Regions from separate parts of the Homo sapiens genome. Here region 2 is linked to region 1. Evidence: promoter capture Hi-C in 16 types of primary human blood cells and fetal thymus (Javierre and others, 2016). All regions are on one chromosome and are shown on one strand. Each heading gives the region's core, a stretch centred on a gene start or on the middle of the fragment in contact. The rest is flanking DNA. Distances are from core to core; before and after follow the strand shown.

Region 1 (2,638 bases), core at 87-2,586:
GGTCGGCTCTAAATGTAGATTTACTTGGATTCCAATCTACTTACCAGCTGTGTGCCCCTGGGCAAGTTACCTCTTCTGTGACTCAACTTCCTTGAAGGAGGGTGTGTAAAAGTGTCTATTTCACACGGTTATTGTGAGGATTAAATACCAAAAGTATTAAAGCTGTGGTTAAACTCTCAGTAAACATTAGTTATTTCTACCAAAGTTAAACTGCCAAATCCTTGAGTCTTGATTTGTCCTCATAACTGCTGTGGCATTTCTCCTCTTTTAAAGTCTTCTGAACAGAAGTTGACGTTTGCATTTTAAAGGAACTCAAATGGCTTACTTTTACGAAGTTGGGGGGATTATATATACACGTGACCCGCCAGGGTATGTAAACCTGGCGGACTTCAACAGTCTGGGGGTGCCTGCGCTCAAGGGGTGAAGGGATGCTTAGAAACTTTCTCAGGAAGAAGGTGGGGCCTTCAACGAGGGCGGCTGGCTACAAAGAACTAAACTTTCACACAGCAAAGGGGAGCCGGTCTCCCTGCGCCCGCGGGCGTCGAACCCAGGCCCAGCTCTCACCACCCAAAGGCCCGGGTGCGGCTGCAGGGTGACGAAAGCGTCAGACCCCGGGGCTGCTCTCAGCTTTGGGCTTTCACCCGGCACTCTCCCAGACAAAGGGGCTTCTCAGCCAGGTCGCTGTTTTGGTTTGTCGTCCTCCCAGCCCCCACCTTCGTCCCCAACTTCCCCTGGCGCTGGCTCGGCGGCGTCCCTCACATCGTCCCTCCGGCCGCCACCCCGGGCCCCTTTGTTGTCTGCCGTCTCTCCCAGAGAGGGGTGGGGGGCCGCGACATTCCAGGGAGGAGAAACCGAGGAGTGAGGGGCAAAGACGCTCTTCCATGCTCTCACCCGAGGAGCGCGCCCCACGACGCTGGCCAGCCGTTCTCCGGCGACGGCCCGGGCCGCGCCTCGGCGCCCTCGCCCGGGTCCTCGGCACGGGGGAGGGGCGTGGCGCGGCCGGCGCTCTCTGATTGGCTGCGGGCGTCAGGGCGTCGCGCCGCGATTGGGTCGCGCAGCTGTCTGGAGCGAGAGCGCGCGAGGTGGGGAGGGGGCCGCTGGAAGCTGCTGGAAGTCGGGGGCGGGGGATGCGGCTGGGGCGCCGGGGCGGGGACGACGGGGGCGACGGCAGGACGGGCCGCGCCTGTGCAGGGCGGTCGGGGGCGGCGGGCGCGGGAGGAGGTGGCGGCGGAGGGGGAGGTGCGAGCCGGGCACCGCCCCCGGCCCCTCCCCGGCCTTCCCCGCGCAGAGCTCCGACCGCGGGCGGCCCAGGGGCGGGCGCGCCGCTGCATCCCCATCCTCGTCGTCGCCCGGCACAGCGCGAGCGGGCGAGCGGCGCGGGCGGCCGGAGCGCCGAGGCCCGGCCATGGCCACCACCAGCACCACGGGCTCCACCCTGCTGCAGCCCCTCAGCAACGCCGTGCAGCTGCCCATCGACCAGGTACCCCGAGGCGCCCTGGCGCCGGGCGTCGCGCCCTCGCCGCCCCTCCCCGCCGCGGTGCCACCCGACCGGGGGCCCGGGAGGAGGGTGGGGGCTGGGGCCGGGCGCCCGGTGCCCCCCTACCCGCCGCTCCCTGGAAGGGAGGGGGCAACAAGCCGGTTATTGTCCCAGAGCCCCCTCCCTCCTGGGTGCGCCCCCAGCCCGCCATCCCCGGGCCGAGCGGGAGGTGGGCCGGGCGTTGTTGCCGGCGACAGCCCCCGGGGAGGGTGGTCGTATGGGCGTGCGGGTGTGCATGCGGTCCCTGCCCTTCGCGGCAGCGGCGCTCGGATCCGGTGGTCGGGTCCCGGAGCAGCCCCCGGTGCGCATGGACCGGGTTGTGGAAAGGGTGCGGAAGGCTGCGCTTTGGGGAGCCTGGCGTGGTGCTGCCTGCCCCGCGCGCGCCTCTGAGCGACCCCCGGAGAGGCTGATGCATGGGTCTGGGTGTGCTGGGTGCCTTAGAGACGGCGTCGATGGGTGCTAGGGGCCCGGAGAGGCTTAAGCGCTACTGCACTTTGGGGACAGTTTGCGTTGGATTGTGGCTTAAGAGAGACAGAGGCAACAGTTTGTGGGAAGGCAGACAGGTTATGAAGAAAAGTCGGAGTTAATCCCAGGATTCTTGCTGACAAAGTGGCAACCTTGTAGATTGATGCAGCCACTTTACCTCCTTGCCCAGCCCTCAGAAAAGCTCTTGACAGTGTCTAGGGAAGGGTGGTATTTAAATGAGGCCAATCGAGTTTGATGGTTTAAAGGGCCTAACGATTACTGAGAAATAAACAGCATTGTGATGGGAAAAGCAGCGCCATTTTTACTGAGAAAAGAAAGTTTGGAAGTATTTTGTTGTGACAGTGAGATTTAGGGAAGTTGTTAATGAGGCGGGGGCTGGGGGGCGGGGGTGTATAGTTAGGTGATTGCTCTAGCCCCAGGCTAAAGGTAGTTAACTTTGGAAATTTTGCTTACAGTTATTTCAAGTGTACTTAACCTGGAAGTGTTTGGACTTCACACGGGATACTGGTTCACTGTCTTGAACTTGAAGGTGCTGCTGTCATTTAGTCTTCAGGGATTTCACTTCAATACGGGATTCCTTCTTGTCCAGACGGCTTTCCATAGCAGCAAGCTGGA
Region 2 (2,638 bases), core at 63-2,562, 1.9 Mb after region 1:
TATCCTCTAAAAACTATTTCTCATTCTTGTGTTGAGTAATTTAAAAAGCAATGCCATCGTTACCAAAGTAAATGTAAGATGTAGTTCTAGGCCTCAGCATTCAGCCTAAATCATAGGCCCTAAAGAGTGGTGTGCAATTCTGACAGCAGAAGACTTGCCTAAGCCCTATTTTTAAGCTGGCTGCTTGTGATGGAAACATGGCCCGTAGAAATGTGTGCAGATAGACACGGGAAATAAGCAAATCTTTGAGAAAGCCTTAGCTGAGATTATTTTGCTCATCTTGGAATTAAAAAAAACATCATCACCCTTGCCATGTGACTTGGCTCCTCCATTTTCCCTCAGAATATGATTAATTGCTCTCTAAATAATAAAAGTCTTCCAGGAACAATAGAAAATATCTACTATGGAACATTCATAAATATTCAGCTGAAGCCTGGTGGGAATGCTAGGCTCCCATGAGAGCTCTGTGCTGACATTGGAAGTCAGAAACCAACTCGGAGACATAAAACTGTGCAGTAAAAATATTTACACAAATGAGTTTGGGGTGAGTTGTCAGAGTGCCATGTTCCTCTTTTGCCTGGACGTCGGGAATTAATTTGGACCTGATGGTGAAGCTCAGGTCTGAAATCATAGCAGCTTTTTTATATCCATGGACAGCTCACATAAATGTCAGGGGTGAGCAGAGTAGAAACACTTGGGCCACTACCATAGTAGAGCCCAGGGCATCAAAATGTTGCTTTATTTCCCTTTGATTCCATAGGTTCCATCCAGCCTTCTAGAAATCATTTGGTGCCACCTACTAGAAACTAGGAAAAACAAACTATTAGACTCAGGTCCCATCTCCTCTCAAGGAAACTACATGCCAAAAAGGAATACATAGGTATTTGCAATTCAACACAAGTGCCGGCATGCTGATCTGACCACATGCTACTAGAGCATAAGAAAAACAAAAGACTGCAGGGGTTGCAGGGGCGATGGGGTCAGGTGGATGACTGCACAGGAAAGGCTCTATGTAAGATGGGGCATCTGAGTGGGTCTCAGAAGAGGTTATAAATTCTTGCAGGTGAGAAGAGAGTAAGGGAATGCTACGCATCTCTGGTGTGGTCTGGGAAACCAAGGGTGACAACGATGTGGTTAGGGACAACGAGCTGGGAACATCAGCCCTAAATCTGGAATGGAAATTTGGGGATCCAGAAAGATGCAGTGATCTTTCTCTCCATTTCATTTTTGGTTTATTCTGGCTGAAGTTTTGCCAGGGGGAAAGGTTATAAAGGGCATTGGAATGTTAGTCTGTCTGAATCCTTCAGGATTTGAAGGTAACAAAAGCAAGAACCAGCCCTGCAGGTCATCGTGTGCCTGAAGAAAATGACAGATGGCCACACAGAGGCAACAGACAGCTTGGAACAGCACATGTGCTCTCTTTCCTGCCCCTCTCAGCTCTGGAAATATTTCTGGGAACGCAGAATGCCAGCCTAATCCATCTGGAAACCTTAGATTAGGAAGAAAAAAAAAAACAAAACAGGATCATGTCTTATTTCAACTTTCAAATGTTTTGAGGAAAGTGCCAAGAGAAGGGGCAGAAAGAAGAGAAACAAAGAAGAGAAGTGAGAGGAGGAGATGAAGAAGAAAGAGGAGACACAATTAGTTGAACTATGTTTAGCAGTAGATTCACTCTAGAAGATTCATTCTGATGGCTGAAACTTCCAGAACATGGATAACGTTTCAAGACACTGACATGATGGGGAATATTAATTTGAATGTGCTATTTTCCTATGATAGCATTTTAAGACTGTAAGTATAAACAGCTACACAAACAAGCCCTTATGTGGGTTCAGATGTCCACAACAACATAACTTTATTTTTCTACCTGCAGCGCCACTTTTACTCAAGAGAAGAAAATTAAATTTTAAGTAATTCATATTAAGCAAGCAAATCAAGGATTTTCAGCTGGTTTAGTGATTCTCTCTCACCCTTTCTCCTCTGAGTTGGTGTAAGTTCTCCAGCACCAAAGCACTGAGAAGGAAAGTGCTGGGTTCTCAGTGCTCAGCATCTGTCATCATTAGAGTTTATTGAGATTTCTCCTTAACTGCTGGACTCTGGTTGCTGGCACCTGGACCTTCTGGTGTGGCTTGAGCTATCTGCCTCCAGCTGGTCCCCAAGGTTCTCTCTATACTGGTCACTCTGCATCTTCATCAAAAGTCTCTTCTAAAACATGAAAGCTGACACTTGACTCTTTTGTTTCTCTCTGTATGTTTGATGTAATAACCCTACCAGACAACATGAGCATAGATGCCCTTGCTGCCTGACTCAGGAAGTGGGTGGGAGGGGAACACGGGGCATGGCACAGAACAGGACGTACTGAAAGCTGAAGCCTTTGGTTAATCCTTTACAGTATTATTCTGATACATCCAAAGTAGCATTTATTTTTTTTTGAGGCGGAGTCTCGCTCTGTCACCCAGGCTGGAGTGCAGTGGCATGATCTCAGCTCACTGAAGCTCCACCTCCCAGGTTCATGCCATACTCCTGCCTCAGCCTCCCAAGTAGCTGGGACTACAGGCACCCGCCACCATGCCTGGCTAATTTTTTGTATTTTTAGTAGAGATGGGGTTACACTGTGTTAGCCAGGATGGTCTCGATC

Evidence for each region. The method cuts DNA at HindIII sites, captures the fragments that hold promoters and counts their contacts. A CHiCAGO score of 5 or more calls a contact.
Region 2: a contact is called between a fragment that was not itself captured here and the fragment with the promoter of MBOAT2 in region 1, in 2 of 17 cell types (total CD4 T cells and total B cells). The highest score is 5.4, in total CD4 T cells.

Annotation. Positions count from the first base shown.
Region 1 is chr2:9,002,382-9,005,019 of GRCh38, reverse strand. It overlaps MBOAT2 (membrane bound glycerophospholipid O-acyltransferase 2), which reads left to right and starts at 1,336. Exons shown (of 13, transcript NM_138799.4): 1 at 1,336-1,480. The coding sequence starts at 1,406. LOC124907728 (a long non-coding RNA gene) reads right to left here and starts at 944. Exons shown (of 2, transcript XR_007086199.1): 1 at 892-944. RefSeq lists silencers at 963-1,422, 1,966-2,260 and an enhancer at 2,025-2,638. The HindIII fragment of the contact is 14,053 bases long and covers 1-2,638 here.
Region 2 is chr2:7,059,140-7,061,777 of GRCh38, reverse strand. It overlaps a transcript of RNF144A not described here. Among named protein-coding and RNA genes, the nearest start is that of GRASLND, 140 kb to the right of the region's middle. The HindIII fragment of the contact is 5,110 bases long and covers 1-2,638 here.